7 separate regions of the Homo sapiens genome follow, and all the other regions are linked to region 5. Evidence: promoter capture Hi-C in 16 types of primary human blood cells and fetal thymus (Javierre and others, 2016). All regions are on one chromosome and are shown on one strand. Each heading gives the region's core, a stretch centred on a gene start or on the middle of the fragment in contact. The rest is flanking DNA. Distances are from core to core; before and after follow the strand shown.

The links. The method cuts DNA at HindIII sites, captures the fragments that hold promoters and counts their contacts. A CHiCAGO score of 5 or more calls a contact.
Region 1: a fragment that was not itself captured here is called in contact with the fragment with the promoter of NT5DC1 in region 5 in 1 of 17 cell types (activated CD4 T cells); the score reaches 5.5 in activated CD4 T cells.
Region 2: a fragment that was not itself captured here is called in contact with the fragment with the promoter of NT5DC1 in region 5 in 1 of 17 cell types (total CD8 T cells); the score reaches 5.3 in total CD8 T cells.
Region 3: a fragment that was not itself captured here is called in contact with the fragment with the promoter of NT5DC1 in region 5 in 5 of 17 cell types (total B cells, monocytes, activated CD4 T cells and 2 more); the score reaches 7.4 in total B cells.
Region 4: a contact is called between a fragment that was not itself captured here and the fragment with the promoter of NT5DC1 in region 5, in 10 of 17 cell types (non-activated CD4 T cells, total B cells, activated CD4 T cells and 7 more). The highest score is 10.1, in non-activated CD4 T cells.
Region 6: a fragment that was not itself captured here is called in contact with the fragment with the promoter of NT5DC1 in region 5 in 2 of 17 cell types (total CD4 T cells and M0 macrophages); the score reaches 5.7 in total CD4 T cells.
Region 7: a contact is called between a fragment that was not itself captured here and the fragment with the promoter of NT5DC1 in region 5, in 1 of 17 cell types (fetal thymus). The highest score is 6.2, in fetal thymus.

The regions. Positions count from the first base shown.
Region 1 is chr6:116,689,624-116,693,831 of GRCh38, reverse strand. KPNA5 (karyopherin subunit alpha 5) reads right to left here. Exons shown (of 14, transcript NM_001366306.2): 3 at 1,676-1,777; 4 at 1,440-1,539. Among named protein-coding and RNA genes, the nearest start is that of KPNA5, 11 kb to the right of the region's middle. The HindIII fragment of the contact is 8,500 bases long and covers 1-4,208 here.
Region 2 is chr6:116,730,923-116,734,946 of GRCh38, reverse strand. KPNA5 (karyopherin subunit alpha 5) reads right to left here. Exons shown (of 14, transcript NM_001366306.2): 14 at 1-2,811. The coding sequence ends at 2,624. Among named protein-coding and RNA genes, the nearest start is that of FAM162B, 33 kb to the left of the region's middle. The HindIII fragment of the contact is 177 bases long and covers 2,167-2,343 here.
Region 3 is chr6:116,650,773-116,655,136 of GRCh38, reverse strand. It overlaps ZUP1 (zinc finger containing ubiquitin peptidase 1), which reads left to right. Exons shown (of 10, transcript NM_145062.3): 6 at 2,945-3,133; 7 at 3,400-3,565. Among named protein-coding and RNA genes, the nearest start is that of ZUP1, 16 kb to the left of the region's middle. The HindIII fragment of the contact is 5,992 bases long and covers 1-4,364 here.
Region 4 is chr6:116,673,838-116,677,721 of GRCh38, reverse strand. No RefSeq gene overlaps it. Among named protein-coding and RNA genes, the nearest start is that of KPNA5, 5.4 kb to the left of the region's middle. The HindIII fragment of the contact is 7,093 bases long and covers 1-3,884 here.
Region 5 is chr6:116,099,348-116,103,221 of GRCh38, reverse strand. NT5DC1 (5'-nucleotidase domain containing 1) reads right to left here and starts at 2,369. Exons shown (of 12, transcript NM_152729.3): 1 at 2,199-2,369. The coding sequence starts at 2,291. It also overlaps a transcript of FRK not described here. RefSeq lists enhancers at 127-196, 1,666-2,186, 2,187-2,709 and a silencer at 2,294-2,553. The HindIII fragment of the contact is 3,203 bases long and covers 550-3,752 here.
Region 6 is chr6:116,709,656-116,713,619 of GRCh38, reverse strand. All of the region lies in intron 7 of KPNA5 (karyopherin subunit alpha 5), which reads right to left. It also overlaps the pseudogene LOC124901560. Among named protein-coding and RNA genes, the nearest start is that of KPNA5, 30 kb to the right of the region's middle. The HindIII fragment of the contact is 2,132 bases long and covers 982-3,113 here.
Region 7 is chr6:116,628,544-116,632,283 of GRCh38, reverse strand. It overlaps RSPH4A (radial spoke head component 4A), which reads right to left. Exons shown (of 6, transcript NM_001010892.3): 4 at 2,582-2,717; 5 at 1,732-1,849; 6 at 1-77. LOC124901386 (a long non-coding RNA gene) reads left to right here. Exons shown (of 2, transcript XR_007059721.1): 2 at 2,294-3,740. Among named protein-coding and RNA genes, the nearest start is that of RSPH4A, 14 kb to the right of the region's middle. The HindIII fragment of the contact is 952 bases long and covers 926-1,877 here.

The DNA of each region.
Region 1 (4,208 bases), core at 181-2,680, 590 kb before region 5:
ACCATTCAGGACATAGGCATGGGCAAGGACTTCATGTCTAAAACACCAAAAGCAATGGCAACAAAAGCCAAAATTGACAAATGGGATCTAATTAAACTAAAGAGCTTCTGCACAGCAAAAGAAACGACCATCAGAGTGAACAGGCAACCTACAAAATGGGAGAAAATTTTTGCAATCTACTCATCTGACAAAGGACTAATATCCAGAATCTACAAAGAACTCAAACAAATTTACAAGAAAAAAACAAACAACCCCATCAACAAGTGGGCGAAGGATATGAACAGACACTTCCCAAAAGAAGACATTCATGCAGCCAAAAGACACATAAAAAAATGCTCATCATCACTGACCATCAGAGAAATGCAAATCAAAACCACAATGAGATACCATCTCACGCCAGTTAGAATGGCGATCATTAAAAAGTTAGGAAACAACAGGTGCTGGAGAGGATGTGGAGAAATAGGAACACTTTTACACTGTTGGTGGGACTGTAAACTAGTTCAACCATGGTGGAAGTCAGTGTGGTGATTCCTCAGGGATCTAGAACTAGAAATACCATTTGACCCAGCCATCCTATTACTGGGTATATACCCAAAGGATTATAAATCATGCTGCTGTAAAGACACATGCACACGTATGTTCATTGCGGCACTATTCACAATAGCAAAGACTTGGAGCCAACCCAAATGTCCAACAATGATAGACTGGATTAAGAAAATGTGGCACATATACACCATGGAACACTATGCAGCCATAAAAAAGGATGAGTTCATGTCCTTTGTAGGGACATGGATGAAGCTGGAAACCATCATTCTCAGAAAATTATTGCAAGGACAAAAAACCAAACACCGCATGTTCTCACTCATAGGTGGGAATTGAACAATGAGAACACATGGACACAGGAAGGGGAACATGACACACCGGGGCCTGTTGTGGGGTGGGAGGAGGGAGGAGGGATAGCATTAGGAGATATAACTAATGTTAAATGACGAGTTAATGGGTGCAGCACACCAACATGGCACACGTATACATATGTAATAAACCTGCACGTTGTGCACATGTACCCTAAAACTTAAAGTATAACAAAAAAATAAAAAATAAATAAATACAAATAAAAATAAAAAATCATGTCTGAAAAATATTTCTACAAGAATTAAAAAATATATATCTCTAACCTTATTTCTTGGCAGCAGGATTAATCTTTTTATATTTGCCTCTTTAACTGCTTTTATATTTTTACGATTTTTCTACAGTCAACATATGTTACTTTGGTAACATCATGTTCAAAAACGGATGTTACTTTACAATATATTTTGCAGAGAATATAACACCTGTGTCTAGCAAAGAAAGGTATTTTAAAATTTAAAAAAAAACAATAAAATAAACCTCTACTAAAAAATCGTGTAATATCAAATAAGCATACTGAAAATAATTCTTGCCTTTAGAAAGCAGCTTTCTAAATTTCTGTGTTGCTGTTAGCTGTTGATCAGCATTATTAGAAAAAATCATCTGAACCATATCTGTAGTAACAACTTCTTCCTAAAACACACACACAAAAATATAATTAACATTTACATATTTTACATGAATAATTTTGCATGCATAAATATTTGTTATACATACTATTGCTAAAATTATTGAGGTATAATTTGAAACATATTTTGGTAAAGTATACCTCTGGAATGGGTACAGTGGAACTAATATCTGGATCCTGTATAGGACTTTCAAGCATAGATTCATCATTTCTGGGCAAATAGACATTTCTGCGTTTGAACAACTGTAATAAAGAGAAATCAGTTTACACATTGAGCTTTCCATAAAACATTAAGTTGCCATAGAATTCCATGTTTTCATTTGAGTGGACAAAAGAAACCTATCAATTTTATAACTTAAAATTCTGAATATTTGAGTATTTCCCAATCATTATACTAGGAAGATCTAAGGTATTTATGAGAAGTCAAATTTCTGGGCTAGCTTTTGGCTGCACAGACTACTTCACGTCACTTTCAATCTCAGATCTTTTACCAACAGTAAGCGTGTAAGTGGAATACACATGGTCATTTTATAGCACTTAAAAAAGCACATATTTACACACTGGATTATGAGGTATCTAAGAATTTTTGCAAGAAAACTTAAAAAGCACATCTGTTGCATATGAAAGATAACATCTGATACATTAACAGATTTAGTATATCTGATTAACAAGGAATAGAAAACAAATCTTAGGAATGACAGTACTATGCTTATTAATTCAGGAGCAGATAAAAATGAAGCAGAAAAAAAGAAGAAAGAAACATGGTGAGTTCACTAAAGGAGATTTATAGGTACAGTTGGCCCTCCATATCTGTGAGTTCCACATTCCCAGATTCAACCAACCTCAGATCAAAAATAATAATAACAATAAAAAATAAGAAGCCAAGCATGGCAGCACGTGCCTCTGGTCTCAGCTACTTGAGAAGCTGAGGTGGGAGGGCTGCACAAGCCCAGGAATTGGAGGGCAACCTGGGCAACACAGCAAGACCCCATCTCTTAAAAATAAACAACAACAACAAAATACGAAAATAAAAAATAATACATATTTTATTTCACTTTATTTTATTTTTTGAGACGGAGTCTCGCTCTGTCTCCAGGACAGAGTGCAGTGGCACAATCTCGGCTCACTGCAACCTCCACCTCCTGGGTTCAAGCGATCCTCCTGCCTAAACCTCCTGAGTAGCTGGGATTATAGGCGTGCGCCACCATGCTCGGCTAATTTTTTTATTTTTAGTAGAGACGGGGTTTCACCATGTTGGTCAGGCTGGTCTCAAACTCCTGACCTCAGGTGACCCGCCCACCTAGGCCTCCCAAAGTGCTGGGATTATAGGCATAAGCCACTGAGCCCGACAATAATACATATTTTAAAACAACACAGTATAACAACTCAACTACACAGCATTTACACTGTATTAGATATTATAAGTAATCTGGAGATGACTCAAAATATACAAGAGGATGTGTGCAGGTAATATGCAAATACCATGCCATTTTACATAAAGGACCTGAGCATCAGTGAATTTTGATATCTGCAGAGGATCCTGGAACCAAGGGATAACTCTACATTTCCTAAATCAAAATTTGAGGAAAACAAAATCTGCTTATATTCTTTTTGACATCTAAATAAATATCGTTCTTCTTTTTTTTTTTTTTTTTGAGATGGAGTCTTACTCTGTCGCCCAGGCTGGAGTGCAGTGGCATCAACTCGGCTCACTGCAAACTCTGCCTCCCGAATTCACGCCATTCTCCTGCCTCAGCCTCCTGAGTAGCTGGGACAACAGGCGCCAGCCACCACGCATGTCTAATTTTTTTGAGATGGGGTTTCACCTTGTTAGCCAGGATGGTCTCAATCTCCTGACCTCGTGATCCGCCCGCCTCAGCCTCCCAAAGTGCTGGGATTAAAGGGGTGAGCCAGGGCTCCCAGCCTGTTCTTCTTTAATATGTAAACAATCTTCCTTCTAATCATTTATTCAACACAATTTTTTTAGTACCTACTATAATGTATGAAGGATTGTGTTAGACGCTGTAGATAGGGAGATGAGAAATCATTATCATATTTCTGAAATAGGCCTTGCCTATTACATGCCTGTAATCCTAGCACTTTGAGAGACAGAGGCAGGAATATTGCTTGAGGCGAGGAGTTCAATACCAGCCTGGGCAACATAGCAGGACCCCATCTCTACTTACAGAATACAATAGAATAGAATACAATAGAAGAGAATAGGCCTTTTCTACTTTCTTCACTGCTAGTCCTTTTCATACATCAGTTTTAATTCACATGTGTGAGAACCACATTATTTTACTTACTTACAAATACTTCTACATTTAAGTACATCTTGGAATAAAAAATGTTGAGATGTACTCTCTTAAACAATTTTATATTCTTTATGTCACATATGAAAAGTATAAACAGAGATCCAGCTAATAAGACAATGGGGGAACAGTATGAATAGCATGGGAAGATGACAATAATTTACTTACGGGCAAGAATTATGAAAACTACAAAGCAGCAAATAATATATAATTAATGTTTCTTTAAGGGGCAAATTTTACAATGACAAATGGAAGTGATCTAAATAGATGCAAGAGGAAAAATTTCCTAGCAGTAGGGTAAAAATATAATTAACACAACAGGTTTATCAATAAAACAGAAAATCCATTTCTCCCAGTGACTA
Region 2 (4,024 bases), core at 1,006-3,505, 630 kb before region 5:
AAAGGACTCTTTCAAGTATTTTCTTGATATTTGCATTAATGCTACATGCATTCCTCTTTATAACACTTTTTTTCGGCATAGTTTCTCTTGGATTTAAATATAACAAATCTTAGAAAAGCAAGTTAAAAAAGTATTTTTCCTCCCACAAGGGCCAGTGAAGACTACTGAAAACACTTTTTGGAGCATTTTATTTATTTTTTTCTTTTCTTTCTTTCTTTTTTTTTTTTTTTCCTGGTCAGGGCTCTGCCTGATGAAATATTTTAAATGGTATACTTGAAAAGAGTAGCTATATTTTTGAAGAATTTTCATCACAAAGTTATTTGTTAGTCTTGATCCAATAAACTCTTAACAATAAGCCAAGCCAAGCCAAGCCAAGAGCTGGTCCCAACTGCTATACAGTGCTCTTTGCAATCAAATCTAAAATTAATTACCCAAGTAATATATTTAAGGAAATAAATAAAACTGTATTTAAATGCTTATGAAGTATAATCACAGTCTGTAGAGATATGTTTGTTTTACCGGCAAAATTTAAGTTTCCTTTCACAGGTCATTCTGTGTGCATGCATCAACACACACATATTTATTATTTCTCCTTCTATAAGAACTATCTTGTTTGAAAAATTTGGCTTAGAAATTTATTATAGTGACTACAGGGTCCTCAAAATAAAAGGAGGCACAGCTGGTTAGTTTATGAATCATGCTGCATTATCAATTTTAATTGACTAGAAAGAGTAGAATACCCTGTCACCTGATACTTAGAACCATCTGCACCACAAAAAGGTTAATCTGATAAATTCACCATCAATTTGGTAAGCTTTAATATAACTACCCTGTTTTTTGAATACAGATAATGCAAAAGAAAACCATTTTATACTCGGCTATATACCTTCCACTACGAAAAAAGGGGCACAGATACAATCTTCTACTTAATAATAAAAAAGGGCTGGCAGATGCACTCAGCATTACGAACACCATTTAAACCTGTATTTTACAGCTGTAGGTTTTAAGTATCTTGTCAAAAGCTTAGTTTCATGATATGTAATTTACAAAGTGACATATTCTTTAAAAGTACTCCTATATACATTTTCCTCTTGGAACGTGCCTCTGATTTCCAGCAGAAACATTACAAATACTATCATAAATGAAATCTTTTTTTAAAGAATAGACCATGAATCATATCAAAATTGCCTTAGTTCTCATCTTAAAAAGAGTTGTAAACTAAGTTTTAAGTAAGTATTCTAGGTATACAATTGGACACATAAATAGCCTACGTATAACTATAAATTAAAAGATTGAGTTCAACAGTAGTTGAACTGTGAGAGTAACACACACACATATATATGTATAAATATATATATAATTTTTCTATTGAAACCTTTCTTTCAAATTTTCCGTTTGAAGAGGTTTTTGCTGTTAAATCATAAAACATACATATTGATCAATCTGACATGAATGTAATCTATGATTCATAACAAGCAGCAGAATGACCCTCTGAGTATTACTAAAAGAAAAAAGTCTTATAGATTTGAACCATATTAAAGAACCTTTAGCAATTTTCATTATCATTTAGCATCCAAATGTTAAATGCATTTAATACAATTTAACACATAATAAGGTTATTTCTTCAGGGTAATTTTGTCATTCGAGTACCTAAACTTGTACTTGTACTTAAACTTAAACTAGTACTATTATACAGAAAATGAAACTTTTCAATTACTGCTCTGAAAAATCAGAGAAATAATTAGTTATTATTTTAGATATGCAGCACTACTTTAGATTCATGATGACATCTCTGTCATGATGCTCTTTAAAACAATGAGTGAAAAACAATAAAACACTATTTCAAAAATGGTAGCATATTTGGTTGAAATACAAAATATACTAATATACATAGCACTTATATGTTAAAAACAGAAATATTTAAACATTTTATAAAGTAATCTTTTTAATGTGTTCAACATGAAAAACAGCTTCTCCCTTCACAATTGCCACATTTTAATGGATTATCAGTATAATATTTCTTCTGTTTTATAAATAAATTTTATAGGTTTTCTGTTGCAATTTTTTGCAAAGTATAACCTACAGCACAGTGATATGTATAATTTAAGGTAATAAATATTTTCACATTCTAATTTAGCATTTGCATTATTTCATGCTTCTGAAGCTTTTTTGTTTTTATTTCTGCTTCAAGATAGAGGTAGATTTAGTAGAGATTAGATGTGTAAGACTTACTGCCAAAATGCAATTATCAATAGGTTTACTGCTAATGTGCAGTTTCCAAGAATGCTTGAAAAAATTCAGAATTACTAAGTAATGCTTCACCAAAATTCTCCTTTTCAAGCTTAAATTACTAAATAATTGCATATTCAATTATTCACAAATAGATACAAAAATCCAAACAATAGAAGATATAAATACAGGCACAACAACAAAACTAAAACAACAACAAACTACAATGAAAGGTTGCATCTGAATGGAAATTTTTGTTTCATTTTGCTTTCTAAAAGTGCATCAAATTCTCTTTACTGTTCTATGTAAAAAAACAAACATTCTTACATTGGCAACAAAGAGGAGTTACCTGAAGCTACCCTTTTTAGCCATAAATTTTTTTTCCTCCAGTAAGTTAAAGTTGAAATCCATCCATTGGTGCTTCCTGCTGCTGAAATATAAACTGTTGTTGGTTTTCATCCACCTGAGGTACAATGCTGGGGTCATCTTCTTCTACACCAAAGTAATGTTCAATCAGATCAAATGCCTTCTGGTAAATTTCCTGATTTTCATGGCTTTGCAAAAACTCAATTTTATCCAGACCTGTTATACAAAGTATATATATATATATATATATATATATATATATATATATATATATATAAACAAACTGTTACTACAATTTCAGTATATGTTTAAATCAAAATAATAAGTGAACATCATCTATCACCTCACTGGCAACGGGACTATTTTAATCTAACTGTTGCACATACCGATAGCCATCACTTACGATTTATACTTCAAGAATGAGAGTATGTAGCAGTGTCATACGAAGAAGGACCATAGGCCTGGGAGTAAGATCACAGACACCACCCTGCTAGGTGTGTGATCTTGGCCAGGTAAGTTTAGTTCTTCTGTTTCTCAACTGTAAAATGGCAGTTTTAGATTAACTCCACAGGTCCTTTCTAGAGTAATTAACAAAGCCCAAAAAGGGAAAGCAACAAAACAAATTAAATGAAGAAAATAAAACACGCTGAGCCAGAGAGTATCACTATGAAATAAATGTGTAAAATTTCCAAACCCATACAATAAAAAACATATGGCTGTTGTGCGGTTTAAAAGAATTACAATCTACAATTGAAACTGAAAGGCCTCATTTTGAAAAGATGAGAAGAATCTATAGCAATCGATTTTACTGCTTATCAGAAAAAGCTCTACACGTAAGTCTGGGTAGTGCTGAAAATACATTTCATTTAATTACAGATAAACGACTTCAATCAGATTATCACAGAAAAAAAAGCAGCAAAGCAGTCCTATCTATACACAATCACAGAATAGCTCAAACCCTAGTCTGACTCGGGGTCAAAATAATGACTGTAGTAAGACAATATTCTTAAATCAGTGACTAATATCTTGTATTCATGTAATGTCTTATCCAGTGATGTTATATAATTTGAAAGAAAGACAAAGTGATATCATGGGCTTTAAGAATCAAAAATAAAAGTCTGAATCACCCATACAATGTAAGAGGACTTAATACAGAAAAGTGAATATTTAATGCAAATAAAAGAAAATCAATTTAGATTCATGCCTTATCTAAAATAAATTCCATATGATTAAATGTTTTAAGAACCTAATTTTTAAAACTTGGCAAATAAAAAAATTAATTTTCATCAAATCTCTGTGGAGGCAATGACTTTGTAAACTTTGAAAGAATAGAAAATTAGACTGAGTTATTTAAACATAAATGAACATGGTATGTTTTATTAAAATAAAAGAATGTGTTCAATGGATGATCTGAAAAAAAATAGACCGA
Region 3 (4,364 bases), core at 1,366-3,865, 550 kb before region 5:
TAGTATTACATCCAGAACTGGATGTAGCTAATTATAGCTAACTTATCTTGTTTTCATATTGATAAACATTTAGATTGCTTCCAGTTTTCTACTCTTATAATTTATGAACATGTCTACTTCAGGCGTTTCTCTAGTATTACATCCAGAACTGGAATGCTAAGTTAAAGGGCGTGCAAATCTTCAACGTTGTTAAGGTTATTATAGAATTGTTTTCCAAAGTGCTTGTAATCTACATTCACACCAGTGTATTTCACACATAGTATGGTGACACTTTTAAATTTTTGCTATTTAACAGGTTATGAGATGATACATGTTTTAATTTGCATTTTCTGGATTACTCCTGAGTTAGTTTCCTCTTGAACGAATTACCTGTTCTCTTCCTTTCTCTATTCTCTATTGAGTTGTTTGTTCTTACTGATTTATAGGAGACTGTTAAGTATTCAGAACACTATTCTTTCATTAGTTATATGAAATCCAAATATCTTTTTCAGGCCTGTGGTTTGTGTTTAAATGTTATATATAGTGCCTTTAATTAGACAGAAGTTTTGAATTTGAATGTAATCAAAGTTCTCAATCTTTCTATTTATTATTTGTGTCTTAAGTAACTCCCCCATCTTTAAGATCACAAATATATACCTTTATGTTTTCTTCAAATATTTATATTTTGCATTTCATATTTTGATTTTAAATCCACCCAGAATTTATTTGCATGTGTATGTTGGAGGGAGGAGGGAGAAGATAGGAATCTGATTATTTTCTCCTTGTTTATAACAGTCCTTATAGCAAGTACATATTATGCTTATTTATTTCACTACCATTTATTGAATCTGCATTTTCTCCACCTATTTGTGATACTATATATTATAGATTTTCATATATCCATGATTCTGTTTCTAAAGGCTGCCTTTATATTTCTTCAGGGGTCTCCATGTAAAAAAGTTCTCACTATAGCATAGAGCATCCTCCAGATGTGTGATATGATTCATTAGGATACAGGAAGAAAATATTAAATATGTCTGTAAAAAAGCACACTGTCCTGTAATATAGAAGTGATTTAGTGGCAGAGATTTTTATTTTTCGTTAATTATGCAAGTGTTAATTTAAGCAGCTATCATTTAAAGAGTCTTCACTTATATACTGCAATCTTGTTATAATTTTAACAACAGAATATAATTTAACTGAAGATAAATTTACTGTGGAAAATATCTAAAGACATTTAGGTGCTAAGGAATAAAAAGTATAAGGAAATTTCCCCCTAAAGCAGTTGCATGATGTTGCTAAGACAGTGTTGCTCTCCATCTGATATGTAACATATATACTAAAATGTACTAGAATGTTTATTACTTTCCTTTCTATTTTTTCTGTCCCCTACTCCACCTCATTCTTAAAGGGCTGCCTCAAATCTTGATCTCTTCATCAAAGTCTATGATATTAAAATCTACATTTAGCTTTCTTTCTCTGAATTCCTAGGGTACCCATTCATTCCATGCTACAACATTTAGTACTCAGTTATATACTATTTTAATTGTTGTTTTTCTTGAATTCAAGTCTTTCTAAGTTCTTTGGAAGTGGTTACAGTGATCAGTATTTCACCTTTTCATGGTGCAAGGCACAGCTACAACTATTGGTTCATTTAACTGTTTTTATTTATTGATCTTTTATTGTCTTTATTAAAGACAAAAACCCATTTTCTTCTAGGAAACCCTTCATTCAAGCAAAAAGAATTTAGTTATTGTCTTTGGTGCCACATGCTATGAGAAAGTTATGGGGCATATAATAAGATCTCCCTACCCATAGGCTTCACAGAGTCTGTAGAGTATGTAAATATACACAAAGAATTATAGTATTCTGTGACTGAATGTTGCTGGTACCTTGGGGACACAAAAATAGGGTAGAATCAGAAAAAGGGTCTATGAAGACAGTAGCATGTGAAGGATCTATAATTTTGAAACATAAGGAGAATATACTAAAAGCAGGAAAGGGGCCGAGTCAGATGTCCCTTGTCCTAACACCTTGTTTTTCCATATTATAGCACTTGTTATAGTTGGGGTCGATGACATTTTAAAGGATATTATCATATTTATCTTTTTGTACTTAGCATTTAGATAGTGCCAGGTGTATTAAAAAGTACTTAGCAAATACTGAATTTGAAAATTTAATAAAACTCTATGGGCCAAATTATGTTTAATGTGTTCAGTTAGGCCACAGCCAAAATTACAGCAAGAAGAGTAGTGTGAAATAAAGATAAGACAGTGGATAGCTTTCTGTAGACTTCATATAACATAGATTAGAACTATTCTAATTAGGTTTATAAGGCTATTAATAAGATTCCTAAACCTATTGTTCTGCCTTAAGAAAAGTTGTCTTCTGTTGTCTCAAACAAATTAATTAATCTCCCCAAATAGCAAAATGGAATATGTTACTAAAGGGTTGAAATTTAGCGTATTGGAGTATGAGATATGTTTATTATTCATGAAGTCAAGAGTTTTTAAATGAAAACATTTGTGTATTCTCATGCTTCGAAAATTGCAAAATCTGCAAAATAAAATCTTAAATTACAAAAAAATTAAAACTATTGGTAATAGGGAGCTATTAATATTTTTTGATTGGGAGCAAATTGATTAAGACTGAGTGATCTCCAGTAGTCTATACAATAAAATGGAGACACAAGAAGAACATTCATTCAACAGTTGTACTTTATGTGCTGGGCCCTGCAGATGCAGAAAATTTCAATGAACTGTAATAAATAATATGCTAGTGTTAGGAAACTTGGACTGTAGTAACAAGCAAGGACACAAACTAAGGTTATAGCAAGAAGAAGGTGAAGAAGATGGAATTAACAGGATTTAGGTATGGTGCGTGAAGGAGAGGTTGATATTAAAAATGTATGAGATAGCAATATAAAGGTGATAATGACTGCTTCTGAATCTCTTTTCTACTTTAGGAATTATTGAAGCACTTCATAGGTATTATCAGAATGCTGCCACAGATGTGAGACGGGTGTGGCTTTCTTCAGTGGTGGATCACTTTCATTCATCTTTAGGCGACAAAGGTTGGGGTTGTGGTTACAGAAATTTCCAAATGCTACTTTCATCATTATTACAAAATGATGCTTACAACGATTGCTTAAAAGGTATGTGAAATCTAGTACTCTGAACTTGTCATCTGATAAAATACATATGATATAGAATGATATAGCATACACAATTAATAGCTTTAACAGTTAGTGGATATTTATATAAGAAACCTGAATTCTGGTTAGAGGAAGAGAAAATGATAGAAGATGTCAGGAATAACTGTCTTAAAAACCGTAAAGTTCCCCGAGTACATAATACACTGCTAAATATTATTCAGTACTTTATTAACAGTCATGTAACATGTTTGCTTGTGTAATTTTAGGTATGTTGATTCCTTGCATTCCAAAAATTCAATCTATGATTGAAGATGCATGGAAGGAAGGTTTTGATCCTCAGGGGGCCTCTCAACTTAATAACAGGTTACAGGGAACAAAGGCCTGGATTGGAGCATGTGAAGTATATATACTCCTGACCTCCCTAAGGGTAAAGTATGTACCTTAAAACCTAAATAAATGTTATTTCCTTATCGGGGAGCTTTGTTTTGTAAAATTTTATTTTTTAGCAAAGAGATAGTTTAAAAATAAAATTAAGTAGCACTAAATTAAGTAGCAATGAAAATCAGCAGCCTATTCACTATCTTGTGCTCTTCTCTACCCTCAAGTTCTGTCTCTCAGAGGCAACTGTCACTTCCATTGTTTTTAAATGGTATGCTTTCATAGCTGTTTCTTGGTTTATGAGTTTCAGATAGTCTGTTTTAATATCTTATACCTGTTTACCTTCAATCCTTCTGATATGATTAAATCTTGGTTTTTATTAAAATCAGAGTTTACATCATTTTATAAAGTCAGATTTTATTATACAATTGTGTAAATATTGCTTGTTGCTGATTTTTTCTAAAATCATTTATAATTTTTCTTGAGTTAATAATTGTGTTTCCTTTTCTCTTTTACTATAATATGTGACGACATCATGGCCTCAAGTTTTTGCACTCTACCTGTCATGTAATCTGAGGCTCTCCTTATTCTCGGACACATCCTTCTTGAGCATTCTGTCCTCTTTGCTCCAATCTGGACTTTTTGCCTTCTAGATCTACAGCTATTGTCATGTAGCATTTTTTCACTGTTTTGTGTGTGTGTGTGTGTGTGTAGTCTCATTTTTAAAATGTATAACCTATTTATTTTCTGTGGAAGTTATTCCAACCTTCTCTTAGCCCATCATAATTTCACGATATTATGAAATTTCACCATGGGGTGTGGGGCTTTGATTCATTGTGTTGGGCATTTGTTT
Region 4 (3,884 bases), core at 1,339-3,838, 570 kb before region 5:
TCATAACACTTAGGCTACAATTGGGCAAAGTCATGTAACACAAAGCCTATGTCAGAATAAAGTTATAAAGAATTTTTGAATCAAAATTCAAAATTTGAAGTATGGTTTATTATTAATGTGTATCACTTTTGCACCATTGTAAAGTTGGAATGTCATAGGTCAAACCATCATAAGTCGGGGACTGTCTGTAAATGTTTACTGTTTATAAGTCAACCCATTTTTGGTATTTTTGTTATGGCAGCCCAAATGGAATAAGGAAGCAGGTAAGTTATCAAAGTAAGAACATACTTCTTCTGAGATCCTGTTGATCACTGCAAAATTAAAATTTGATATACTTAACTTTACAATGACAACATGAGATAGGGGACACTGAGGCACAGATGAATGTGTAAGTAAACTTTCCACTGTCACAGGGCTAGTAAGAAGTAGCTGTGATTCGTACCTAAGTAGTTTATCTTAATGAGAACTAGATTAAGACTCAAAGTTATCAGTAGCAGGATCATATAATTTGTGTTAACCAGGACATTTTTGATAGTGGAATGGGGTACTAATAGTAACTTTTTTGGGATGACTGTCCTGGGCAAACTGGGACACATGACCATCCTAATTGTTGAAGTTGTAAATTATTGTTAAATTTCCCTCACTTCTGTAGCACAAGTCATTCCACACAACAGCATGTATCCTTGCTGCTATCGATAGGTCTGATCCAGGATGTGGGGACAGAGTGACTTTATTTGAAATGCTAATCTGCCATTAGCATTTCTGACTAACCCCAAGTCCAGGAATGCTCCCAAAATGTCTAGTTGATGTATTACTCTTTAAGTAGGAACACCTATTCACCGTAAGTTTCCTCCAAAACAATCCTTGATGCTGCTACAGAAATCACAGGCTGTGACACCTGTAGCCACCTAAACATTCCTTCCAGAGTACGTATATTTTCCCTAAGATATAAGCCCTGGGTTTAGAGAGTTAGCCCTGGGTTTAGTGGTATGGAGATCTACCTGTCTTGCGGCCACCCAAGACCACGCTTCTGTCTGTAAGTTCCCCTAATAAATCACCCAAGACCAATTAACTTGATTTTTCTGCCTTTTTGGGTTCTTGGCTCCTTCAACATTTGGCAGTTGCTTTGCATATACAGCCCTTTCACGGAACACAGGGAAACAGACTGAGATTCAAGATTTGCCACCTGATATTTATTGCAGAGTGCTCTTTGGGAATAATAACAGGAGTGAGGAAGCAGGATTCTACAGAGAGATAAATTATGTTGCATTATTAGCAACAGAGACTTCAGACAATCTTATAGGAAGTGCAGAAGCTGGGATGGCCCTTCAGAATTGTCACTGTTGAGGCTAGAGGCTCATGTTTCTATCACTGAATCAAGAAGTCTTTGGATATCACTGAATCAAATCCAGAGAGGAGGGTTAATCTTGGGTGAGGCAGCAGCTCCCTTTGACCAGAGTGCAGTTTCTGAAGTGGAACTTGGCCTAGAGCCCTCATCATTGGGGGAAGAAAATCCTTTAGTCCTGAACCAGAACTTGGGCAGTGTACCAAAGGTTCTACCACACATACTTTTTCAGTTTTCCAAAGATAAAGAAATGAATGGCCTTCTTTCAGCTTCATGCCTCTTCTTTCTCATCCTCCTTATTTAGTCTTCCTCCTTTAAGCAACCTATAAATGTTGGCGCCAGGCCTCTTACTTTGCTGCATTGCCTCTCTAGGTGATACAACATACTCCTGTATTTTTAAAAGCCATCTACCTATAAACCACTTTCTCCCAAATTCAAATTTCCATCCCTGACCTCTTCCTGGAGGTCTAAACTCATATATCAAACCTCCATTTGGATGTCTGATGGGCATCTCAAATTTAATAAGCCAAAACAGATTTTTTTATTCTATCCCATTCCACTTTATTTCTTTCTCAGGCCTCTTTATCTCTGTAATGATACAACTACGCAGCCAGAAACTCCAGTTAAAAAACTTATGAATCATTCTTTACCTTGCCCTTACCAGTGCCTCCTGTCTTTCGCTTCTAGCTCCAAAATAGTCCACATCTACACCTAGTCCATCTCTACTGACACTTCTTCTAGCATTCCATCATTTATTTCATAAACTGCAGTAGTATCCTAATTAAGCAATCTGTATCTACCTTGACTCCTTTATAATCTATTCCCTGTCCAGAAGGTGTAGTAATTTACAATTAAATTTTTATTTATTGTAATCAAATAATACAAATATATCATTTAAAGGGTCCAATAATAAGTTTATCGTGAAAATTAACACTTCCCACCTGACCATCCCCAGATGCCGCTCCCCAGAAGCTACTATTTTCAACTTGTTTAGGTATTCTTATTGGTATCTCTTTTCTAATTAAATATTTTAAAATCATACACTGCTATTTCTTAATTTGTAAAGTCATAGACATTTTCTATTGTTATAGATGTAAAATGAGAATTTATTACTCATAACTGCACTAACCTCCCAACATACACATTTACACATACTTCCTGATCGCACATCCTCCAATATAGTTCTATCAAAATTATTTTGGTTAAATCAATATTTAAATTTTTATGTAAAAATTACATTCCTTGTATAGTTTTTTATTGTTCTAAAATTAATTGCCTGTTTTCTGTCATTATCATTTGCTTAATTTTCTAACTACTCATCACTAACTCATCTTCAAACACACTGCTGGAGATCTGTATTAGTTTCCTGTTGCTGCTCTAACCAATTACCACAAACTTGCTGACTTAAAATAACATAAATGTATTATCTTACACTTTTAGAGGTCAGAAGTCCAAAATGGGTCTCACTGGGCTAAAATCAAGGTGTCAGCAAAGTTGTGTTTCTTCTGGAGCCTATAGGGGAGAATCCATTTCCTTGCCTTTTCCAGTTCCTTGAAGCTACCTACATTCCTTGGCTTCTGGACCCCTTTCAGCAATTACATCTCTCTGACCTCTGTTTCTGTTATCGCATCTCCTTTTCTAAGACTGACCTTCCTATCTGTCTCCCTCTCATGAGGACCCTTGTGATTACATTGTGCCTACCTAGATAAACCCCTCTTGTCAAGATCCTTAATCACATCTACAAATTCCTTTTGCCATGAAAAGTAAGATATTCACAGGTTCTGTTAATAAGGAAATAGAATCTTTTAAAAAAATTTAATATTAGAGACGGGGGGGGCGGGTCTCACTATGTTGGCCAGGCTAGTCACCAACTCCTAGCCTTAAACAATCCTCCCACCTTGGCCTTTCAAAGTGCTGGGATTACACGTGTGAGCCACCATGCCTGGCCAGGACATAAACATCTTTGAGGGACACTATTCTGCTTAACAGAATATATTTCTCTCAGTATGGTCATAAACATGAAGTGATCTGTCAGTTGCCTCTTTCCTCCCTCCCTCCCTTTCTTTTTCTTCCTTTCTGCCTTCATTCCTGTCTGTTCTCTCTCATCTTGGTAGAGTTTTTTATGGAATTCCATACGTTCTACTTTCTTTTTTTCTTTTCTTTTCTTTTCTTTTCTTTTTTTTTTTTTTTTTTTTTTGAGATGGGGTCTCAATCTGTCACCCAGGCTAGAGTGCAGTGGTGTGATCTCGGATCACTGCAACCTCTGCCTTCTGGGCTCAAATGATCCTCCAACCTCAGCCTCCTCAGTAACTAGGACCACAGGCACACGTCACCACGTCCGGATAATTTTTTGTATTTTTGGTAGTGACGGGGTTTCACCATATTGCCCAGGCTGGTCTCAAACTCCTAAGCTCAAGCAATCCGCCTGCCTCGGCCTCCCAAAGTGCTAGGATTACAGGTGTGAGCCACCATGCCCGGCCCCATACCTTCCACTTTCTTTGCTTCTTCCCTCATTTTGGTGGGAGCTTCCTGGGAAATA
Region 5 (3,874 bases), core at 1,120-3,619:
ATACCTATTATCTATTCAGTCTATTTATTGAGTCCAGTATGTGCCCAGCACTAAGCTCGGCACACAGAACACACAAGAAACTGTCACAGATACTGATGGAGTCATCACGCTGGGCTCTAGGGGAAGTCCAACAAGTAAACAGGAAGTGTTAATATCATGCAGCATGTGCTATGAGGAATGAAGGGTTTTGTGGAAAACTGAAGGTGGGCTTAGAATGGAAGGGCAAACTTTAAGGGCCAAAAAGACTTCCTAAGGGGAACGATGTTTAAGATGAGGCCTGATGGGATGAAGAGCTTCTGTGCAGAGCAAAGAGGCCCTCCAGGCACTGTTGGCAGCGTGAAGCAAGACCCAGGTCATACTACCCACCACAAGGGACCAAGACTAACTCTTCAGCATTTTTGCCTACTGTGTAAGGCTGCCTGGAGGCCTGCGTGTTGATCTCTGTATCCTCAGCTCTAGCATGGTGCTCAGCACACTGTGGGACTTAAAATAAAAAAGATTTCCACACCAAACATGATCCAAAACTCAATAGGTTACTGTTTTCAAGCTTTAAACATCACTTATTCTCCAGGTTTGCAGTAAAAAAACCTCTTGTCTTTGAGAATCTTATATTCTGAAATTTTATGATCACCTATGGACAACACTAGCTCTAACATGACAGTGGTTTAACAATATTACCTCCAAATGAAGGTAACTAAAGAGGAGACACACAAAACTGTGAACCAGGAAGGATTCGAAAGACACAGAGGGAAGGAAAACATGTATCAAAGACCTAGGGGAAGCAGTGGCCAAAGAATCAAGCAGTAAAAAAGCCTTCTTAATTCTCAATGTGACTAAGGAAACCAGACCTGTAAGGTAAGAAAGCAGGAAAGTGTAACAGCAGAAAAAGGACATTTAAAAAAAAATTTAGCATCTGGGCATAGAAAACACACGAGAAATTCGGGCAGCCACTCTTTTTTGACCTTTAACGTGTACCTGAACTGGTGGGTGCAGGAACTGGCGGGTGCCCATAATGGGGCACAACCCTGGCTGATGTCTGCACCAGTGATCTAGAGTTCTACCCATAAACTGTGAGGTTTCCAAATAGTTTGGGTGGTAACCATAAAAGCAAACACTTGTCTTTGCCAAGGTACTATTCTAAGCATTATACATCTCTTACTCATTTAATCCTTGCAACAATCTTGTGAGGTAAATCCAATTATTAGCTCCATTTTACAGATGGGGAAACTGAGAAGCAGCACAGGTTAAGTAACTTCCTCGAAGTCACAGAGCTAGTAACAGTGGAGCTGGTGTCCTAAGCTAGGCAGTCTGGCTGAGGAGTCCTCGCTTTCACCACTGTACTCATAACCAGCTCTTTTTCTGTCTGGATGCTTAGATCTTGGACTAAAAAAATCTGGTAACTTTTCAAAATTAGTTTCCTTGGGAATTGGGAAACCAAAGGAATAGTGGAGGGAGGGCAATTAATTTGAGTGTACAGGTCTGGAAGCATGCATACTCCATGTCCCCCTCCCTCAGGGCACAGTGAGGACCCAAACTTCGCAGACTGTTGGTAGGACTGGAATGTATTCAAAGTGCACGGAGCACGTAGTCGATGCGCAATAAATATGTATTTTCTTCTCTTGATAGAAGGTAAAACTAGGGCTAAGATCTTAATGACTTTTCAACTAGTGTTCCTTTCAATACACTACACTATATACTACGCATCTCTCCCAGATTGCAGTTTAAACACTGATGGGTGGTTGATCGTGCAAACAGAAAAATGCAGCCAAAAAAAATGCAAGTACCAAATCAAGTGGCTGTGTCCACAATCAGCTGGTGTCCAGAAAGACATGCAGAGAAAGTTCCACGACGTGAGATCTTCAAGGACAGCCCTAGTCCCCCTGACCCCGCCCCTCCTCGGCCCTAGAAATCACCGATTCCCCAGCCCGGTCTTGCGCAGTTTGCCCCTCCTTCGTTCTTCCCTATCCCTCTCAACATTAGCTAATGGCTGAGGTAAATGTGCCGGTCCCCACGGCACCGGCGCGGAGCGGAGGCTGCACACTTCCGCCCCTTCTCGCCGCTGGAGGCCGCGCTCTGCGGCAAGACTCGGCCGCCGCAGGCCCCGGGCAGCGTCCGCCGTTGCCCAAACCTGGAGGAAACTCAAGCCCCAGCCGCCATGGAGGTTGCGCGCAGTGCGCCCCGGAGCCCGCGCCACTCACCGGGGCGCTCTCGGGCAGGTTGTAGCGACACAGAGTGTGGTCCAGGTCGAATCCGACCACGTCGCAGGCGGCCAGGGAGAAGTGCTGAGCCATGGCTGCGCGGGGAGCACCAGGGAGCGCCTCGGCCGCGAAGGGTGCAAGGAGCTGGCTGGCGGGACGCTGCGGGACAGGACCGGGCCGGACGCGGCGGGGCGGGGCTGCGGCTGCCAGGGCACACGGCGCGGCAGCCTCTCCCGCCTCCCGCGCCCTCGAGCACCGCCCCTCGATACGCTTAGCCCCCGCCCCTCGCGCGGCGGGCGTCCTGCGCCGCCCGGAGTCAGGTAGTCAGCTCGCGTCCTCCTGGTACCCCAATGCCGGCGACTCCTGATCTGTTCCGCAAGCCTAGGAGCCCAGAAGGCAGTAGGGGTCCAGGAGCGGTGCCGCTGCTGCACAGCTGAGACCTGTAGGCACGTAGCCTTTCCCGAGGGCTACCACAAAATTAACCGGGACACTCCATCGCCTCAGGGCGCCTCGGAAACCAGGAGATCATGAGGTTAGACCTGACCTTTTACCCCTGTGTGAGGAATAGTAAGATCATAGAAAAAATTCATCCGCTAATATCCCTCTGACCCAGTTAGCCTACAATTTGGAAGGTCTTTTCACCCACGTGATCTTTGATAGTGGTTTAAACCAAAAACTTTATATTCCTTGGTTTCCTAAGTGGTTAAGTGGAAGACAGACCTTTCACTATTTCATACCCTGGAGTGCGTTAGAAAATAAATGTATCAGACATCGTGAAGAACCATTTTGCAAGATGATACTTGTTATGGAAACCAATATTGGTTATTACTTGATAATCCTATTTTGTTATTGTAATGAATTTTTTATGAAAGGGCATCAGAAACTTCATAGAAATATATAGAGCATACTACAAAAAACTTTTGCAAACCGGGTTTAAGGTTTATAGAGCACAAAATGTTTTGAGTGACATTTGCTTAATTCTCTCAAGAACTGTATAACTACTACCATTTTAGATGCAGAGAAAGTTAATCCATTACATACAATGTATGCCTTAGGGCATTTAATTCTCTTCCTGATTTCCGGATGTGAAGGACTAGCACTTTGAGATCTTTATTACATAGTACCTCATTTTAAAAAGAAAATACAAATCTATTATGTTTACACTGCTTCAGTTCTCAATTTAAAGGAACAATGTGTCTAATGGGACAAATCAATAGTCGTGACATAATGAAAATATAATTGATTGAGAACTGCATTTAACCCTTTCAAATACTAATCCTTCTGAGGCTAATAGACCAATCAGAGGATTAATTTAGTGCAATAGATAGTACAATTGAGTAGGAGGACACTTATACCTAGTAGACCCATTTGAATAAAATTGATAACTTGTTCCATTATAACACTTAAAAGCCCCAAACAAATCTCTCTGGAATAGGAAAAGTAAAGAATCTTCAAGAAGATTAAGCTGTTCACTGATGAGTCCAACAATCATGTTTTCAATGTCTGTGAACCAAAAGAGAAAAGGCTGGATTGTTGGAGAGGCTGGAAAAAGCTTGTTGGCCCTGGAGCATTGACCTTGGCATTCTCCTCTGCACCTTGCAATAGAATGCTACCAAAGTCAAACTTCCAGGTGCATGCCACATTGAAGGGCACATGTTTCCTTGGGGAATATCTTG
Region 6 (3,964 bases), core at 798-3,297, 610 kb before region 5:
AAGAAATAATTACTGAAAACTTTTCAAACTTTATAAAAGAAATGAATCTACACATCCAAGAAGCTGAATAAACTCTAAGGATAAACTCAAAAAGACACATACCAAGACACAAGTAATCAAAAGACAAAGACAGAATCTTGAAAGCAAAAAGAGAGAAGTGACCCGTAGTGTAAAAAGATTCCTCATAAAGATCAATAGCCGATTTCTCATCAAAAATCATGAAGGACAGAGGCAATGGGATGACATATTTAAAGTGCTGCTCTCAACCAAGACTTCAATATCCAGCAAAACAATCCTTCCAAACAGAAGGAGAAAGTGAGATTCCCACATGAGCAAAAGCTGAGGAAAGGCATCACTAGCAGATTGGCTTTACAAGAATAGCTAAAGGGAATCCTTTATGCTGAAATGAAAGGGCCATAAACAATACCTCAAAACCATACAAAGAAATAAAGAATACTGCTAAAGATAGCTACATAGGTAACTCTAAGAGCTAGTATTATGGATTTTTTGGTTTGTAATTCCTCTTTTTTTCCCTACATGACTTAAAAGTAAAATGCAAAAAAAAAATCATTATAAATCTAGGGTAATGGGCACACAATGTATAATAATGCAATTTGTGGCAATAACAACTTAAGAAGGGTGAGACAGATATGTATAGGAGTAGTGTTTTTGTATAATTTTGAAGGTAAACTGCGAGTAATTCAATCAAGGTGGTTACAAGTTTAAAGTGTTAATTATACTCCTTAGGGTACATTAAAAAAAAACTTTTTAAAAAAATAGGAAAGGAAACAAGAAAGGAATCAATAGTATAAATTATTTTAAAAAAAAAGTGACATGTGGAAAACAAATAACAATGGCCAGGTGCTATGGCTCACACCTATAATCCCAGTGCCTTGGGAGGCCAATGCAGGAGAATCGCTTGAGGCCAGGAGTTTAAGACCAGCCTAGGCAACATAACGAGACTCTGTCTCTACAAAAGCTTAACTAATAGTAAAACGGCAAAAGTAAGTCCCCATTTATCAGTAGTTATATTAAATGTAAATGAATTAAACTCTCAAATTAAAAGTAGTAACTGGCAGAATATATTAAACAAAACAAAACAAAACCCATAAGTCTACGATGCTGTCTACAAATGACTCATTTTAGAATCAAAGACATAAATAGGTTGAAAGTGAAATAGAAAAAGATTTTCCATGCAAATAATACACTTGATCTTAGCCAAAAGGCCGAGAAGCGATTTTCCATGCAAATAATAACAGAGATCCGAATAGTTACACTAATGAGACAAACTAGACTGTAAGTCAAAAATTGTTTTCAGAGACAAAGAAGAACATCATATATTGATAAAAAGTCAATCTATCAGGAAGAAGTAACACATGGGTCAGATGTGGTGGCTCATGCTTGTAATCCCAGCACTTTGGGAGGCTAAGGTGGGTAGATCGCCTGAGGCCAAAAGTTCGAGACCAGTCTGACCAACATGGTGAGACCCATCTCTACTAAAGATACAAAAATTAGCTAGGCATGGTGGCACGTGTCTGTGGTCCCTGCTATTCAGGAGGCTGAGGCAGGAGAATCACTTAAACCTGGGGGCGGAGGTTCAATGAGCCGAGGCTGCACCACTGCACTCCAGCCTGGGCAACAGAGCAAGATTCTGTCTCAAAAAGAAAAAGAAGTATCACTTAAAAACTTACATGGTCTAGGCCTAGCGCAGTGGCTCACGCCTGTAATCCCAACACTTCGGGAGACCAAGGCAGGTGGCTCACGTGAGGCAGGGATTTGAGACCAGCCGGGCCAACGTGGCAAAACCTCATTTCTACTAAAAATACAAAAATTAGCTGGGCTTGGTGGCACATGCCGGTAATCCCAGCTACTCAGGAGGCTTTGGGAGACCAAGGCAGGCAGATCACTTGAGCTCTGATAAATTTTTGAAAAGTGAAATCATAAAAAGTATCTTCTCTGACAACAATGGAATGAAACTAAAAATACAGACAGAAAACTAGAAAATTCAGAACTATGAGTAGAGTAACATACTCTTAAATAACTAGTGAGTTAAAACACACACACACACACACACACACACATATGCAGAAAATACTTTGAGATAAATAAAAAAAAAAACACACCAAAACTTAAGGGATGTAGTGAAATTAATACTCAGAAAAAAATTTATAGTTGTTAACACCCCATATGAAAAAAAGATAACCTTCCACCTTCAGAAATTACAAAAATTAGAGTAAACAAAACTCATAGCTAGCAGGAGGAAGAAAATAAAGTTAAGACCAGAGATAAAATACAGAATAGAAAAACACTACAGAAAATCAACTAAACAAAAAGGCAGTTCTTTGACCCAAAAAAAAAAAAAAATCAACAAAAACAAGCCTTTATCTAGATGGACAAAAGGAAAAAGATTCATATTACTACAATTTGGCTGGGCGCGGTGGCTCACACCTGTAATCCCAGCACTTCAGGAGGCTGAGGCAAGCGGATCACCTGAGGTCAGGAGTTCAAGACCAGCCTGGCCAACATGGTGAAACCATGTCTCTACAAAAATGCAAAAATTAGCCAGGCATGGTGGCATGCACCTGTAATCCCAGCTACTTGGGAGGCGGAGGTGAAAGAATCGCTTGAACCCGGGAGGCAGAGTGTGCCGTGAGTCGAGATCATGCCATTACACTCCAGCCTGTGCAACAGAGCAAGACTCCAACTCAAAAAAAAAAAAAAAAAAATATATATATATATATATATAAAATAATATTACTACAATTAAGAATGAAAGTAGAGACATTACTATCAGCACTTCAACAAAAAAAAATTATATGAGAATATTATCATCAAAAGCCAAGAAAGATAAGCTGGAAGAAATGAAAAACCACTTAGAAACACAGAAACTACCAAACTGACTTAAGAATAGAAAATCTAAATAGAACTATAACAAGATATAGAATTCTAATCAAACACTTCCCAAAAAGGAAAAGTCCAGCACCAGATGGCTTCACTGGTGAATTCTACCAAACATTAATGAATAATTCTCAAACCCTTTCAAAAAATAAGAGAACACTTAAAATAATGGAAAGAATGTAACTGGATTATTTGTAACTCAAAGGATAAAAGCTTGAAGGCATAGATACTCCATTATGTGCTTATTTCACATTGAATGCCTGTATCAAAACACCGCGTGTACCCCATAAATAAACATATCTACTATGTAGCCGCAAAATTTTTTTTTTAAAAAAAGAGAACACTTCCTCATCAATTCTATGAGGATAGCATTACCCTGATACCAAAGACAAAGACATCAAAACAAAAGTTACAAAAGAAAAAATATTTCTTCGGAATATACATACAAAAATCCTCAACAAAATCCTAGGAAACTGAATCTAGCAGCTTATACTATGACCACATGGCATTTAACCAAGCAATGCAAGGAAGCTTCAAGATACAAATATCAATCAAAATAATAAACCATATTAATATAATGAATTTAAAAAAACAAGTTATCTCATTGGATGCAAAAAGTATTTAAAAGAGCTCAACATCCTTTTATGATAAAAACACTAAACAGGTCAGGCACAGTGACTCATGCCTGTAATCCCAGCACCTTGGGAGGTCGAGGCGGGCGGATCACGAGGTTAGGAGATGGAGACCATCCTGGCCAACATGGTGAAACCCTGTCTCTACTAAAAATACAAAAATTAGCTGGGCGTGGTAGTGCACGCTTGTAGTCCCAGCTACCTGGGAGGCTGAGGCAGGAGAATTGAACCCAGGAGGCAGAGGCTGCAGTGAGCCAAGATCATGCCACTGTACTCAAGCCTGGCGACAGAGCATGACTCCGTCTCGAAAAAAAAAAAAGAAATAGAAGGAAACTACCTCAACAGGATAAAGGGCATTTATCAAAAACCATAGCTAACATCAAACTGAATGGTGAAAGAGTTAGTTTTTACTCTGAGATAAGAAAGAAGACAAA
Region 7 (3,740 bases), core at 152-2,651, 530 kb before region 5:
CTGGTGGTGGAACTGGGGGTGTATAATTGTCTGGACTATACTTATGACCCCAGCCTATGTAGAAATTTTCAAACTTTCTATAAGTAAGAAAAAGAAGAAGAAAAAAAGATCATTATATAATTTCTCAGAAAAACTGACCCTTCTGTAATATTAAAGTGCTTAGAATATCATGGTCCTATAATTTAAAAAAGCAATACATGTAAAATGCTAGAAGTGAAATATTCCTCAATGATTCTTCTACCACAGGGAATTGTTTTCATCCAAACTGCCTAAGCTGGTTAAAAAAAAAAACCATGGGGCCAGATACTGTTAAAATGTACCCTACACCTAGACCACAAGCAAAAGCCTTTCTTCCTTCAATTATTTTCAGGGGAGGAAAAAAAAAAGTTACTACCTTCCACAAAGTTAGAAAGATATAAAAATAGCTAACTGTGCAAACTCCTGGTTGGGCAAGGAGTTGGGCTTGTGGTTAGAAACCTATGTGTTACTTTTTTTTAGGCATGACCATAGGCAATCACAAAGAGTTTACCTGGCACATCAGACTTGGAGTACAATGCACTGCTGTCTTTACGGGAAGTTGCAGTCAAGGACGCTGGCCCCTTTGGCTCGTCATGCTCTTCAATGTTTGCATTCCTAGACCAGGTGCTTCCGTTCCTAGGTCTCTTTATCTGAGGCCTTCAGCAGAGGCCTTTCCAGCCCCTCCTTTCTCTGCTCTCTGTGCTCAGCACTTTTTCACTTCTAGCCCTCTCATCCTCCTCTTGGTCTCCAGGTCTGTAAAACTGCAGGAGCCGTTTGAGGATTCCCTTGTCAATGAGATGACCCCAGCACCTCCACATCTATGATAGCCATATCTGTGCTGATCCACCTGACTCTCCAATAGAGGGCCATTCCATGGGGGAAAATGGAACAGGGGGATGTCAAAGCTTTCTCTTGTTTATACTATCACAGTAAATGATTAAAGGCTTAACTCTCATTTTTAGCTTGTTGCTTTAATGGCTACTCTAACACCTGGCCGCTCAGCTTTCTCTCCAGAAATGATCTGAGATTTAAACTAAACATTGCTTAGAAATACCTCCATTAATCTACTAAGTGAATAAGTCATTACCCAAATAATCAATGATGAAAAACCATATTTTATTTCAACAAATTGGATAATTAAGATGAAAGGGTAAAAGTCCAAATTACTACTTAATGTCCTGAATTTGATGTTTTATTGTGTATCACAGATGTTATTTTAATAAATTTTATGCCACACACACATAATATGCCAAAGATGAGTTAAAACGATAGTAGCAGCTGGGCATGGTGGCTCAAACATGTAATCCCAGCACTTTGGGATGCTGAGGCGGGGCGGATCATGAGATTAGGAGTTCAAGACCAGCCTGGCCAACATGGTGAAACCTTGTCTCTACTAAAAAAAAAAAAAAAAAAAAAAATACAAAAATTAGCTGGGCATAGTGGTGCATGCCTGTAATCCCAGCTACTGGGAAGGCTGAGGCAGGAGAATGGCTTGAACCCAGGAGGCGGAGGTTGCAGTGAGCCGAGATCATGCCACTGCACTCCAGCCTGGGTGACAGAGCAAGACTCTGTCTCAAAAAAAAAAAAAAAAAAAAAAACACGAAAAAAAAAACCAAAGAAACAACGATAGTAGCTTAACATTCTAGTGGTTATTTATAATTTCCAGAGCTTAACTAATCACAGAAATGGCTTTGTAAGTGGTCAGATACTTACTTGCCATTGGAGAAGGCATATGCTCCAGGCCAAAGGTTGGATTGAAGGACTGCAATAGCATATTGTGGAATGAGATTTGAGGATAACCGTGTTGTCCAGGGGGGTATATTCTGAATCTCTGGAACCCAAAGAGAAATGCAAAAGCTTAATTCCTAACTAGACAAGAATCTACTGTGTAAGCTATTTTTATAAATACACACACACACACATGCATGCACACACACAGATACACACATACTTGATACAGAAAGAAAAAACAGCAGCAACTTAACAAAATCAGGAGGGTACTTCATGAATGTTTTGGAACAATGGAATTTGAAATATACATCTCCATTTTTGCAAACAAGACAAGAAGTTTTATTAAGGGAAAGGAGGCTTATGTGGTAGAGTGAGTAATATTTGATGGCCCAATGAAAGGTACATCATTAATATGAATAAGATCAAGGGTTGCAAGCACAAATACTCCAAAACTGAAGGGAAAGAGACAAGAATATAGGAATGAGAGTAGAGTTTTTAAAAACCAGGACGAAGAATATTTATGCCATTTGTTTATGGTCTGCAGAATGCAAGACAAGAATAATAAAGGAGACAATTGTCAGCATTTCCAGAAAGCGCTACAGCCAACTTATGTTTCCTGTCTGCATGACTCCTTCAACCTCTGTCAGAGAACATTGATGTGGCCAGCTACATTCTTCACTCCCTATCATCCCAGAACATGAATGGGAAGAGGATGAGACCTTGGCTCCTGTCCAGTTTTTAGAGCTTTCCGACTCTCATATTTACTATATAATGCACACAGTATATTATATTGTTTGTGTGTCTGTGTGTGATAATAGTTACGTAAAATAACCTAAATCTTCAGAGATTGGTGTCAAAAGAGGAAGCCCCACTTCCTGTTCTATGTAGTCAGAATCGTCTTTTTCTTCATCTTCTTCCTCTTCTTCTTCCTCATTTTTTTGTATGGAGTTGAACCAATTACAGCGACCCTGGGAATGAATGTTGCAAGATTTAGTAGTCTAATGGGGACCTTAAAATTTCAGATTATTCATTTGAATTGATCAGGATGAAGTGTAACTCTGTGGGAATTTAATCAATTATTCATTCATTCATTCTACATACATTTTCCAAGTGCTATTTTGATCTAGGTTGTTTCAAGGAAAGGACCGTGCTATTTATTTTAAGAATTTGCCAAATTCTTGAAGTCACAGAATGTGTATTTTTAAATTATCACTTATATTTTAAAATTAGCAGAACCTTAGTGAAAAAGGTAAGAGTGTATTTTACTGGTTTGTGGTAAATAATTTATGTGAGAGAGCTAAAGCTATTATGATGATTATTATTAACAATAACATTTAAATGTGGTAAGATTATTTATGGAGGTTTAGGGTTTATAATGTCTCAGTTAGCTCTTATGTAGAGAAAGCTAAGAGTATCTCTTATCTAGATCAAAGTATAACGAAGATTTTCTACCTGCAGATGAGGTAATATAGCACAGGGGTTAAGTGGATGCACTGGGTCCACTCTGTGCAGCCTCACATCTGATTCTGTTCCTTATTAGTTATGTTCCTTTTGTCACATTTCCTAAACTCTCTTTCAATTTCCTCATCTGAAAATTAAGGATAATAATACTATGTCATGGGGTTGCTGTGAAGATTAAATCTTGTACACACGCACAAACACACACCCCAACACACACACACCTGGCACAATAGGTATTATATAACTGCTATACAGCACTGTTTCCTTGCTTTTTGTTTTTGTTACAATCCCTTATTGTTCTTGGCACAAAAGCTACATGTATTATAGAGATAAAATTAAAGAACTATTTTCAAAATTAATGTACCCATCTATATTAAACATATAAAAATTGAGTAATTTCAGAACACACAAATCTAAATCTGTACATCATCTGTCAAACGCTCCATAGAAGAATGTGTTTTATTTTCAAATAGAAAATAAAGTCTGTTTGGAGATCCCTGGGACCTTCAGTTATATAGACAATTATATAG